Regions from separate parts of the Homo sapiens genome. Here region 2 is linked to region 1. The links are contacts of gene promoters, found by promoter capture Hi-C in human tissues and cell types (Jung and others, 2019). All regions are on one chromosome and are shown on one strand. The core of a region is centred on a gene start or on the middle of the fragment in contact, and the rest is flanking DNA. Distances in the headings are between cores, read along the strand shown.

Evidence for each region. Contacts are between HindIII fragments. The study calls those that stand out against the background at their distance.
Region 2: a fragment that was not itself captured here is called in contact with the fragment with the promoter of PGLYRP1 in region 1 in 4 of the 25 tissues and cell types used here (IMR-90 fibroblasts, aorta, hippocampus and 1 more).

The regions. Positions count from the first base shown.
Region 1 is chr19:46,020,482-46,026,891 of GRCh38, forward strand. It overlaps PGLYRP1 (peptidoglycan recognition protein 1), which reads right to left and starts at 2,572. Exons shown (of 3, transcript NM_005091.3): 1 at 2,254-2,572. The coding sequence starts at 2,540. RefSeq lists an enhancer at 1,180-2,065. The HindIII fragment of the contact is 20,258 bases long and covers 1-6,410 here.
Region 2 is chr19:46,112,816-46,119,225 of GRCh38, forward strand. It overlaps a transcript of IGFL2 not described here and the pseudogene LOC100533846. Among named protein-coding and RNA genes, the nearest start is that of IGFL3, 8.7 kb to the right of the region's middle. The HindIII fragment of the contact is 4,320 bases long and covers 1,150-5,469 here.

The DNA of each region.
Region 1 (6,410 bases), core at 1,322-3,821:
AGCTACTCAGAGCCCCCTGCCTCTCAGAACTCTGCCTTTGCCCCAGCTTGCTTCCTGCCCTCGGGGTCCACTGGGGGACAGGATCACAGACTCAAAGTTGGGGTCGTAACCAGATACCGACCCTGGAGCCCCAGCACCTGCCTCTTTGAGGTTCCCAAGCCTGGCAGCAGATCCTTAAGGCTGATTCATTCAGCACATCTGATTGAGCGTGTCTGACTTGGCAAATGGGAATGAACTAGAAGATCAGTGCCTTGGAGCTGCAGTATGTGCCAACTCAGCCCCCGCGCTCACAGTGTCATTAATGACGCACAGAATGTCGGAACTTCCGAATCTTGAGTCCCGAATCTGCTGCTTAGGAAGCCAGCTCCCAGAATCTGGCCCCAGTGATGCTGGCTGCTGGGACTGGCTGGTTATGGCCCTGCTGGTGATGCTGGCTGCTGGGACTGGCTGGTTATGGCCCTGCCATATTCCCGGAGCCTGGCATGATGGTGCTGGGGTCGGGGGTGGTTGGTTCTCCCTGGTCATTTGTTGCATGAATGCATCTCATTGAAACCTCAGCCACCATCGCCAAGCGGGTACAGTCAGAAGCCCCATTTACAGGTGAAGAAACGAGGCTCAGAGAGAGAAGGTGACGTGACATGGAAAGGGGATTCAGAACGTTAGAACCAGATTCGGAATCCTAAAAGCTGAGGGCCAGACAGCGGCTGCTTCTGTATGTGGTGATGTGGACCCGAGGCTCGGGCCTTCGTGACCTCATGGGAACACTTAGGATCAGAGCGCCTGAGTCTTGGAAACAAAATGTTGAAGTTGGAGTCTTTGATAAAATCTTGAACTGGAAGGGCTGGGAATACCTTTGGACACTTCTAGACTTCTCTGGGTGGGTTTTGTGTGTGTGTGTGTGTGAGACACAGCCTTAGGAGGTCCTGAGAACATGTGTCCCCTGGGTGGGGTCTATTGAAGTGGTCTCTGGGGACCTGCATGTTCCTCCAATAAGCTCTGCAGGAGATTCTGATGCTTACCTGGGTCTGAGAGCCTGCAGGATTGAAAGTTCCCTCCCTGTGGAAACCGTCAGGCTGGACTGCAGCCCATTCTAAGGAGGAGGTAGCTGGTAGGCGTGGCCCCGGACCTGCTTCAGCCTGCTTCAGCCGGCACCCCTTACAGTCTGTTCTCCCCACAGCAGCCAGAGGGAGTCTCTTGTACCTACACTAGCCCTGGTCCCTGCTCTGCGGGGGGAAGCCTCCCATGGCTCCCATCTCGGAGTAAAAGCTACAGTCCTCACTGTGGTCCACAAAGCCCTGCCTGGTCCTGCCCTTTCCTCATTTCATTCCGCTCGCCCGGCTGTGTTCAGCCACCCTGTCCTTCCCACAGGACCCGCCCACTCAACCCCGTTGGCTTTGCCCCCAGCACCCCCTGCCACCTGCAGGCCTCTGTCTGCTCCCCCATCCCAGAGCCAAGGCAGCCACTCTCAGGGAGGCTTTCCCTTGCCCCACCCTTCCAAGGAGCCTGTGTGGGTCTGGTCCCAGCCTGAGGTCACCCTCCCTCACCTCTTTCCTTTTATCCATCGCCTCTATCACCGTCTGAATTCACCTGTGGCCTTGGCTTGTTTCTCCCTGCTGGTCTTTCAACCCCAGGAGGCTAGAGTGGCACCGTTCTCCATGCCACATCTGGCACACTGCCTGGCACATAGTAGGTGCCTAATGGTAATAGCCCGTGGCTTTGCGGGCCCCCGTGTGCCAGGCAGTTCCTAGGTGCTTTGCCTGTATTGGCTCATATAAGGAGCAGATGGGCCGCGATTCCATTGACTTTGCCGAGGAGGAAGCTGAAGCCGGGAGGACCCGCCCCAGGCCTCAGCCAGCAATAAGATGAGCTGACCCTGGAACCCAGCTCCGCACTGAGTCAGCCTGGTTTTCCGCCTCCTAACAAAGGCACCAGGCATCAGGAAGGGGCGCCTTCATAAGGCGTCGCGGACACCTTGGTGTGTGTTAGGCAAAGCCTGCCCCTTCTTCCCGGGAGCGGGAGCGGGGCTTGGATTTCAGCCCATCCCCCCTTCTCACGCATCTTTGTGCTGTGAGCACCTGCCCCGGCCCACGTGGTGACCCGAGGAAGAAATGACCTTGTGAGGTTCAGTAAGCTGCTCAGGGTGTCAGCCAGGTGGCCTCAGCACCAGGCCTAGAAATGGTCCCGCTGGCGGGCACTTGCACACCTTTGCCTCTGGGATCCCCAGTCCAGCCCGTGCCCCCCTGCCACACTCACTTGTAGCCCACGTCGCACCAGCCCAGTGTCTTCATGTGGTAGTGCTGCACATTCCGGGCCTGCTGCTGGCACGAGGCGGGGGTGTTGCAGCTGCTGCCCGCCGTGTGCGATACCACCACATAGCGTAAGGGCAGGCTCAGGTGCTGGGCGCACTCTGATGCCAGGGCCTTCCACTCGTTCCGGGGCACTATGGGGCTGCAGCAGGCCGGGTCTTCTGTCTCCTGAGCCGCTCCGAGTCGAAGGAGGCTGGGGAGAGCCCAGGCAAGCAGCATAGAGCGGCGGGACATAGTGGCAGGGCGGCAGGGTCCGGGAGACCGCTAGGAGCGCCCGGTGGAGGGGCCGCCTTTATCTGCTGGGGGATTCCAGGAGTGGCCCGGAAAGTCTTGCTTCACACCCTGCTGGGACTTCCTGCTGGCCCAGCAGACCCCAGACTCAGCTTCCTTCTCTGGCTGGGCCAGGGCGGGATGCACTGTGGTTGGGGTCTGGGTCACGCCCACGGCAATGACAGGCCCCCTCGCTCAGCAGGGAGGGACGCACAGGCCCCTGGGCGCTTCGCCCCGCCGTTTCTGGAAGACCCGGGGCCGGGATCCCGGTCCTGCTTGTCTCTCCTCTCAGTGGAACATTGAACAACTCAACAGGAACTTACATCGCAGAGGCCCGGGGCATTGGCACATCTTCTCCCCGCAAGGACTGAGGTAACAAAGCTACCCATTTTAAAAACACTTCCTTCCCCCAGGTCCAAGCCTGATGCCATTTACGCTTGCAGCAAACTCAAGAGGTGAGTATCTGGAAGTCCATTTCACAGTGGAGTAAACTGAGGTTGAGAGCAGGGAAGTCACGGGCTGAGACACCGGAGGCACTGGAGCCCCGCGTCTAGAGCCAGGCTGCCTGCATGTGAATCCTGGATATGCAGTGTGTGAGAGCCTGCAAGTGGTTTTTAAAAATGTGTATTTAAAATTTTTTTTTTAATTTTCTATTTTATAAATAATATTTTCCTTTTTTTTTTTTTTTTTTTTTGAGATGGAGTTTTGCTCTTGTCACCCAGGCTGGAGTGCAATGGTGCGATCTTGGGCCACTGCAACCTCCGCCTCCTGGCTTCAAGTGATTCTCCTGCCTCAGCCTCCTGAGTAGCTGGGATTACAAGTGCACACCACCACGCCCAGCTAATTTTTATATTTTTGGTAGAGACGGGGTTTTGCCATGTTGGCCTGGCTGGTGTCGAACTCCTGACCTCAGGTGAGCCACCTGCCAGTGTTCCAGAGTGCTGGGATTACTATAGGCATGAGCCACCGTGCCTGACCTGTGTGGTGTGTTTTCATCTTCTGTGTTCTGCCTTCTCATATACATTGTACTCATGCTGTTACTGAATTGTGCACCAGGCATCTGTAGCACTTTTCAGAAATTATCATATACTCAACGACAAGCTTGCCAGATCCATGTTATTATTAACCCCTCTTACAGTTGACGGAACTGAGGCCCGGGGGGATGATCACATACAGGAGGTGATGAAGCCAGGGTTTGGCTACAGGCTTTCTGCCTGCAGAGTTATAAACCGTATTCTCCTCCCTACAAACTTATATAAGGACATTAAAAAAAAAAATCAAAACCATGTGCATCAATTTACCTTTTGTCACCTAATATTTCATGGGCATCTCACCAGGGCAGTACATCTAATTCTAATTTATTCTTTATAATAGTTGCACAATATGCTATAGTATCAGTTCAGCATTGTGGATCTTTTAGTTTTTGAAGGTTTTCCAGTATTTTCTCCACACTACGCAAAATATTTTCAGACATATATCCCTATGCACTGGTGCATTTATAAGTAAATTATAAACACAGAGTTATTAGGTCAATGAGTATACATATTTAATTAATATTACCAGATCATTTTCCCCAAAAAGCCATTAATAATTCATATTTTTCACCAGTAATGTTTTGGAGCCTCCTCACCCCGACCCCAGAAGTGGGTGTTATCACTTTTTTTTTTTTTTTTTTGAGTCAGAGTCTCGCTCTGTCACTCAGGCTGGAATGCAGTGGCACGATCTTGTCTCACTGTAAACCTCCACCTCCTGGGTTCAAGCCATTCTCCTGCCTCAGCCTCCCAGGTAGCTGGGATTACAGGCATGTGCCACCACACCTGGCTAATTTTTGTATTTGTAGTAGAGATGGGGTTTCGCCATGTTGGCCAAGCTGATCTCGAACTCCTGAGCTCAGGTGATCCACCCACCTCAGCCTCCCAAAGTGCTGGGATTACAGGCATGAGCCACCTTGCCTGGCCAGTGTTATCACTTCTTAAATTTATAAGTATAAAGTGACAGCTCCTTTGGCATTTTTATACCCACTCAGGAGACTGGGTATTTTTCTGTATTTGCTGTCTATATTTGGGCTTGCTCTTTTGTCAATTACCTGTTCATATCCATTGCCCATTAAAAAAAATTGGGTTGTTTGCCTTTTTGTTATTATTTGCAAAATGAACAAAAGAATCCCATAATTGGGATTTTTGACTTCTTGGGTGTGTACATTTTGTGTATTTCAGTTTTTTTAGAAGCATTAAAGAATAATGTAATATAAAAAGTGTGTAAACACATTTTTTATAGAGTTGATAGACTTAATAGAGTAGTGAGCTTATGAGTGTTCACGAAGTGAATCCACCTGTGTATCCAGTGCCTGGATTAAGAAGTAGAGCTACACTTAAAATTTTAATAGGAATTGGTAAATACAATACCAAAAAGATTTTAGTATATATTTTTCCCACAATATGATCAGTTTTTAAATGTTTTACTAATCCAAAGAACAAGATCTCATTATTGCTTTATTTGCATTTCCTTGAACATTAGAGAGGTGATTATCTTTTTACATATTTATGGCTATCAGCATCCATCTTCAAACTGTCTGTTCATCTCTTCTGATCATTTTCTTGTTGAGTTGTATATGGGGGATATTAACCCTATGTCTTATCAAATGTGCTGTAAACCCTTTCCTCTAATCTGTTAAAAAAATATCTAGGTTTTTCTTTTATGGTTTCTGTGTTTCCTGTCTTGCCTTAAGAGGGACTTTTCACACTAAGATTGTAAAACTTTTTCTATTTAAAAAAGATTATTTTGTGTTTTACTTTTAGATCTTTATCTCGGCTAAAATGTATACTTGCATGTGGTGTGAGGTAGGGGTCTGATCTTGTTTCCAGATGCCTAGCCGTTTGCCCAGGTTCTGTTTATTATATAGGTAGACCTGGTTTTAAATTTCCATTCTGCCCCTTATTAGCTACATGATCTTGGGAAATTGGATAGCAATTGACACAGTCGACCACTTCCTCCTTCTCAAAATACTTATTTCCCTTAGCTTTTGTGATGTAAGACTGCCTTGATTTTCCTTCTGCTTCTCTGGCTGGTCTTTTTTTCTCTCTCTCTTTTTTTCAGAGCAATTCTTCCCTCCTGGACCCTCAAACCATATATTTTGTGCTGAGTGATCTTATCCACATAATGGCTTCAGCCACAGTCAAAATGCAGAGGATTCCTGTATTTCAATGTCTAGTCTGGAGCTCTCAGTTGAGTTCTGGATCTGTGTATCCACCTGGCCACTTGACGCCTCCACTTGGATGTCCCACAGGCACCTCCAATGCAAAATGACTCATGACCTTCTCCTCCCCATCAGCACTCTCACAGGAGTTCCTGTCTAAGGAAATGGTATCACCATCTTCCCATTACAAAAGCCATACATTTGAGCACCATCCTTGACTAATTCCTGTTCCTTCCTCTGTTGTACCCAGTACCCAAAAGAATGCCCAGCACATGGTAGGTGCTCACTAAATAGCTACTTGATTGAATGGATATGCAACCCACCACCAAGGAATGCCACTGTGATGAATTAGAACTCTTCTATCTAATTCCATTCTCTGCACCCTGGTCCAGACACCACCTCCTTTCACCTGGATTTTGCCCTGCCTCTTCAGTGACCTCCCAGGATGCACTCTGGCCTCTGTGAAGCCAAAGCTCTGCTCAGATCTTTTCTAAAGTCACCCTCAAAAATGAGTCACATTTTTCATTGGCATCTCTTGATTCCTAGAATGAGGCCCAAGCTCCTCCCCATGGCCAACAGCATGGGCTGCCTACAGTATGGGCTGCCCCCATCCCAGCCTCACCTTGCTTACTCCCAAA
Region 2 (6,410 bases), core at 2,060-4,559, 93 kb after region 1:
CTGCTATCAAATTGATGATGTGGCTCATACTTGGTAATGGTGTCAAGGAAATACAGTACATTAGAGCTGCTGCTCAGAGTGGAAAGGTGCATGTTAGGAAAGAGGTCAATTCCTTCAAAACACTTGTAAGTTTGTTTTAATACCAATTGAAATACAAATGGAATTTTCTTGGAGAAAAGAAAAAGTCTATTAATAAATTGAGAGAGAATTTCTATTTGGGTGCACCCATAGGAGAAAAATCCCATTGCATTCCATCTTTTCATCAGGGCAGCAATAAATATCATGACTAAAACACATCTGTCATAGAGTGTGTGAAATACATCTGAGATGAGACCCAGACTGCTGGTCAACACATCATAGAATGATTCTACAGAGGCAAAAAGCGTTCCGTCCTCTCTTAGAGGGAGATGAAAAGACGTTGGTAGACAAAATGAAGACCTAGTACTCACTATCACTCCTCCAGACAGGATGTGTTCTGCACTTTCCTGGTATGCCATTTTGTTCATAGCCTGAAGTCAGACTGTTGTTGGATGTATTCAGAAATTTCCAAAGCACTAATAAAAACAGGAAAGGATCAATCATGGGGACATTTGGAAACTTCCATTTTGACTGAACAAATGGAATCCACGTAGATATCCAGGATTACGACAAAGAAGATAAGCATTGTGGAAGCCATAAAGGGAGAAATCCAAGATTTATCTTTAACCTCAGTTGTCACAGGAAAGACAATGACCCATGGGCACAAGAGAAGCAGGAAATAAGATGGGATAAAGCTTGAAGACTTTTGGCTCCACTGATGTCTATAGAGAGCTTTCTGGGAGCTGTATGAAAACCAGCTTTACACCACAAAGCCAAGACTAGCAATAATATTCCATGCTTGTTATCTGCCATGTCTAAGAAGGCAATGGTTGTGTAAAGCATGTAAGTTAGAGCCCTGAACTACCCTAATTAAATGGGGTGTTCAGCCGTTTTAGCCTTGAGATCATCACTGTCAAAAAACAGCAATAAATAGATGACAGCAATAATGAAGAAAGCAGTCCCCTGTATTGAAGTTCTGCTCTGTGTTACAAAAAGAGCTTGGTTTATGGCTGTATTTCTTAGAGATGAGAGACAAAATATACAGACAATGGCCAGACCACATATAAAAACAGAACTCTGACCCATAACCTACAGCAGCCTGCCTAGGAAATCAACCCACTTTTCTACAATAAACAGCCCAGGAAGCCACTTGCTGTAAGTCACACTTGTAGGAAGTCAGACTTTCTCTGGTAACAATCCAGGAAACTAAACAGTAACTCCAGTAACAGTCAGCTCCAAATGGCCAGGACTTTATTAATAACTGACAACTTCCCAAATTTTTGTTCCTGTTTCTAACTTAGGAGCAACGTAGGAAAGCCAAATACGTACCCTAAACCAATCCCATAGGATGCTGTGCATCTAGTTAGCTATCCTCAGCTTCCCCATGCCAACAGCCTCCAATCAGGGAACATGCGAAAAAAAGGGTGATACCTTTTCCACTATAAAGCTTTCCTACTCCTCTGCTGGTCTTTGAGTCTCTCCCAAAATGGAAGTGATGGTGGCTGACTTCTTTGTTGTAGAATAGATAGCCTTTACTTTCTTATTTGGTTAGTCTTTGTTTTCACAGAAGTTATTGGCGAACTCCATTTATTAAAGTCATGGGTGCTGATATGGTTTGGCTCTGTGTCCCCACCCAAATCTTACCTTGAATTACCCCACATGTTAGGGAGGGACATGGTGGGAGGTGATTGGATCATGGGGGCAGTTTCCCTCATTCTTTTCTCGTGATAGTGAGTGAGTTCTCCTGAGATCTGATGGTTAAAAAGTGTGGCACTTTCTCCTTCTCTCTCTCCTGCCACCATGTAAGATACGCCTTGGTTCCCCTTTGCCTTCTGCCATGATTTTAAATTTCCAGAGACCTTCCCAGCCAAGCGGAACTGTGAGCCAATTAAACCACTTTTCTTTATAAATTACCCAGTCTCAGGCAGCTCTTCATAGCAGTGTGAAAATTGACTAATACAGGTGCTTTTTGAAAATGCAGTTTCCTGGACTCCCCACAGGTTTACAGAATCAGAATCTCTGGGAGTAAGGCCCAGAAATTTGCATTTTCATCCATAGCCCTAGTGGCTCTCATGCATACTAATATTGAGGACCAGTGTCCTAGAATATTTGGTGATTATCTTTCTCTGGCATTTGTATCACACCTATGTTCATCCATAGCCCTAGTGACTCTTGTGCATGCTAATATTGAGGACCAGTGTCCTAGAATATTTGGTGATTATCTTTCTCTGGTTTTCGTATCACAACTATGTTATGTGTATGAAATACCTAACTATCCCCACTTGTGTGTTTCAAAAGGTCCTTTTGCCTACAGGAGCAGGCTAAATCTCATGACATTCCCCACACTCAATCCTCACCCAGAATTCCTGAGCTCTGGGGAAGGTGCCATCTCCAGCCTGGTTTGCAAGCCAGAAACACAGGCTCTCTCTTACAGGGAAAATGAAAATACATTTTAAAAATGTGAATAACCCCCAAAATATCAGGTAAGGCACATAAAACAAAAATAAGGCGGCGTCAGTAGAAAACACAAGACAAAATGAAATGCAGCGAATCACTGGAAATGTTGAGGGAAGTAGCAGTTCTGGGTCAGGGGAGGCAGAAACAGCTACAGCTTGGGAGCTGTGGCCAGTGTGTTCTCTGAGAGGTAGCTATGCAGACCCAAGCTAACAGCCAACCCCAGAAACCTCAGCCTGATTCAGATTCACCTCAGGGTGAATCTGGTGACTCAGCCTGAGTGGGAGCAGTTTCACTACCCGACTCTCTGTGTAATTTAATCTTGTGTTTGCAGCCAATACCTAGCCAATACAGAAAATTAATGTATGGGAGGAGGCCAGCTGCTCTTGACATGGAAAGTTCAGATTATTTTCAAGCTTCAAGAAGGGAACCAGCGACAGGGATAAATGAATGAGTAGAGCCACTTACCAGCAAAAAGCGTTGGAATTTTTTCTATACCACTCCAGCCCCTCATTGCAGGGCTGCTGTAGAGAACTGATGTCCCCAGTTCTGCCCATCTCAGGTATACTCCAGGAGGCTCGCCGGCTGACAGCTTCCTTGCTCTGCCGCCTGTGTGAAGGGGCTGCCACTCTCTGTTCTCAGGTCTTGGTGACTGATGATGGGTCCATTTTTCCTTTTGTTGATGTTATAAGTGGGACTGTTAATTCTATTTTTGGATTGTTCATTTCCCAATCTTTTTTTTTATTATTATACTTTAAGTTCTAGGGTACATGTGCACAACATGCAGGTTTGTTACATATGTATACATGTGCCATGTTGGTGTGCTGCACCCATTAACTCGTAATTTACATTAGGTATATCTCCTCATTTCCCAGTCTTTTAAGACATACCAAATAATTTTCTCTGTGAGTGTGAGCTTACAGAAAAGAGCTCTCGTTGTCTTTCTGGCAGCAACACCGTTGATAATGCATTGCTGGCAATATCTACTTGTGGTTTTCTGTAAAAATGCTGTGAGTTTAAGGACATTTACCTAATAGTCTGACTGGGAAATCCTAGATTTTAGTAATTAAAAAAATACATTGCTTTGCCTCTAGCAAATAAGAACAATGTCTCTTTGCTGATTCAGATATATTGAATCTTTCCAAAGCATTTGCTTTAGTTAAAGCAATTTTTGATTAGTATTATTCTAATTAGAACAATTTTTAAATTTTTACAGATGAGGTTTCACTCTGTTGCACAGGCTAGTCTCGAAATTCTGGCCCCAAGGAATCCTCCTACCTCAGCCTCCTGGGTTGTGGGGATTACATGTGCTTGCTACTGAAGCGGGCCAATTAGTATTTTTTTAATGGACAAGTTATAATTGTGTGCATTTATTTGATACAATGTGATGTTCTAATTCATGTAACGGAGTTCTGGGAAAGTCATACCAACCTACAGTGGTACCTTTGTGGAAAGATTAAATCAAGCTAATTAACATACCCATTACCTTGCTTATTATTTTTAGTTTTAATAGAGCCAGTAAATCTTTTCACACTCGAATTTAACTTATATTAAATTATTTATATTGTACAACTTACACAAGTTAAATTAATTAACTTGTTTATCTTATATTAAATTAGGCAATTATAATAACTAGTAAAAATTTTATATACTGGTTTGGCATAAACTTAATTGATTGGAGTAAAAGTAGGCAAGGATTTGATTCTAAAATGAAGCCTTAAAATCTTGAGCTTTATTTTGACTATTTTTTTCTCATTATGTAAGGTACTTTATTATTTATTTTTAAAATAATTTTAAGCTTTAATTGAGCTAAGCCTATTCAGTAAGTTTTTCAGTATACCTAGAGAATAAAGGTTAATTGAGGCTGCAGTTAGGAAGATTTCTCTCTTTTTAAATTTTTATATTTTGTAGATATTTTGTAGGTATGAGGTGTCACTATGTTGCCCAGGCTGGTCTTGAACTCCTGGCCTCAAGTGATCATTTTACTTCTGCCTCTCAAAGTGCTAGGATTACAGGTGTGAGTCATTGCACCAGGCCAAGAAGAATTCTCTTAAAAGTCAATTTTTTTTTCTGATTGAATTGGTGGTTTCCAGTCCCTTCTTTTTTGTTGTTTTTTGTTTGTTTGTTTGCTTGCTTGCTTGATTTTTTTAGAGACAGAATTTGTGCTGTCACCCAGGCTAAAGTGCAGTGGTATAATCATAGCTCACTGCAGCCTCAAACTCCTGGGCCCAAGGGATCCTCCCACGTCAGCCTCTCAAGTAGCTGGGACTACATGCATGTGCCATCAAGCCTGGCTAATTTTTTTGTATTTTTAGTAGAGACGGGGTTTCACCATGTTGGCCAGGATGGCCTCGATCTCTTGACCTCGTGATCCACCCACCTTAGCCTCCCAAAGTGGTGGGATTACAGGTGTGAGCCACCGCGCCCGGACTACCATCTGTTCATTTTTAAAATGAATCTTGCTTGGGACTACAGGCCCCAGAATGGAGATAGCACTTCTTCCTGCAGGAACCAGGGACCACCTCACTCTCTTGACACTACAGAGCCTGCCTTCCTTAGCCCCTGCTTGTTAGGTGCTCCTAAATGCAACCTTTGTGGCCATACTTAGCATGCAGTGTCCTCCCTCAGGCTGTGAGCATACGTGGGGCTAATAATCTACTGTTGATTTTATCCACCCAGAATTAACGTCCTGTGTTTTGCCATCCCCACAGCCCTAGGGTGGGCATCCTTTTCTTATAAACAAGGTAAACAGGAGGCAATTAAAACAATAAAAAATTTTAAAGAGAAGTTTAGTGTTCATAAATGTCTTTAACATTAAACCACCGATAGTCTAGAGGCAGCCTTTCAAACTTCTATAAATTGGAATAGACTTTGGAGATGAATCATAACGGCTGAATAGATGCAGGTATGTTTGTCTCCCCCACAGAGAAAACCAGAATAGCAAGTAGATACTCACATTTCAAACAAATGGTCTAGGAGAGAATGCTGAGGTTCACCAGAGAAGAGATGGGAAGCACCAGAAGTAAGAAAAGGGTTTGAGGCAGCTTGCCCACCTGGGATTGACTGAGCTGGGAGAGGCTCCTGGAATGTGTGGGGAAGCAGTAAGAGAGAAAGCCCCTGGGCTCCACACTCCTAGACAGGCTTTTATAATCTTGGCTGTGGGAGAAACCCCGGACTCATTAGGGCCTCCGGCCTGACATATGAAGCTGCCCAAAGATGTTGCTCCAGAAAGGGAACCCCCACACACTCCCACAGGCATCTGAACCCTGGGCAGCCTCAGATGGGCACCATTTTGAGAGCCCAGACATCAGGTATCTACAGACAGCTGCTGCCACTTTACTGCTGCAAGGAGGCAGAGGGGAGACCAGGCACTCCCATGCACCCCTGGGAGAGTTACTGCCTCCCTGCTGAAGGCTGAAGTTGAGACTTACACGTGAGCAGACTGCATTCCCCATAGCTTCTTGCCCATGCTGCTTGCCTGCGAGGGACCTCAGCCTCTCTGGTTGCAGGCCCAAGGTGCAGTTTCCATAGTTTAAGTTCAGGCTGTGCCCTGCCCTTGGCCTCAGTTTGAGTTGACATGGCTGCAGCTGTGGCCCGGTTTAGGAGGGACAGGGAGTCCAGACTCCCTTATACATACTCAAGATAATACTCAACACCCTGCTATGGGATGATGCTTTTCTGGGAGGGATCTCTGTTTTGTCTGGTCACAAGCCCACAGCTGGCACCATTTTGAGAGTTTAACACTTGGCTGTGCCCCGCCCTCCAGGTGAGTTTGAGGTGATGAGTTCCACACCCTGCTGGGAGAGGAACAGGGTAGACTAAGCTCTCTTACCAAACAGGGTAGTCCAAGCTCTCCAGGGTACACCACACTTAGGACA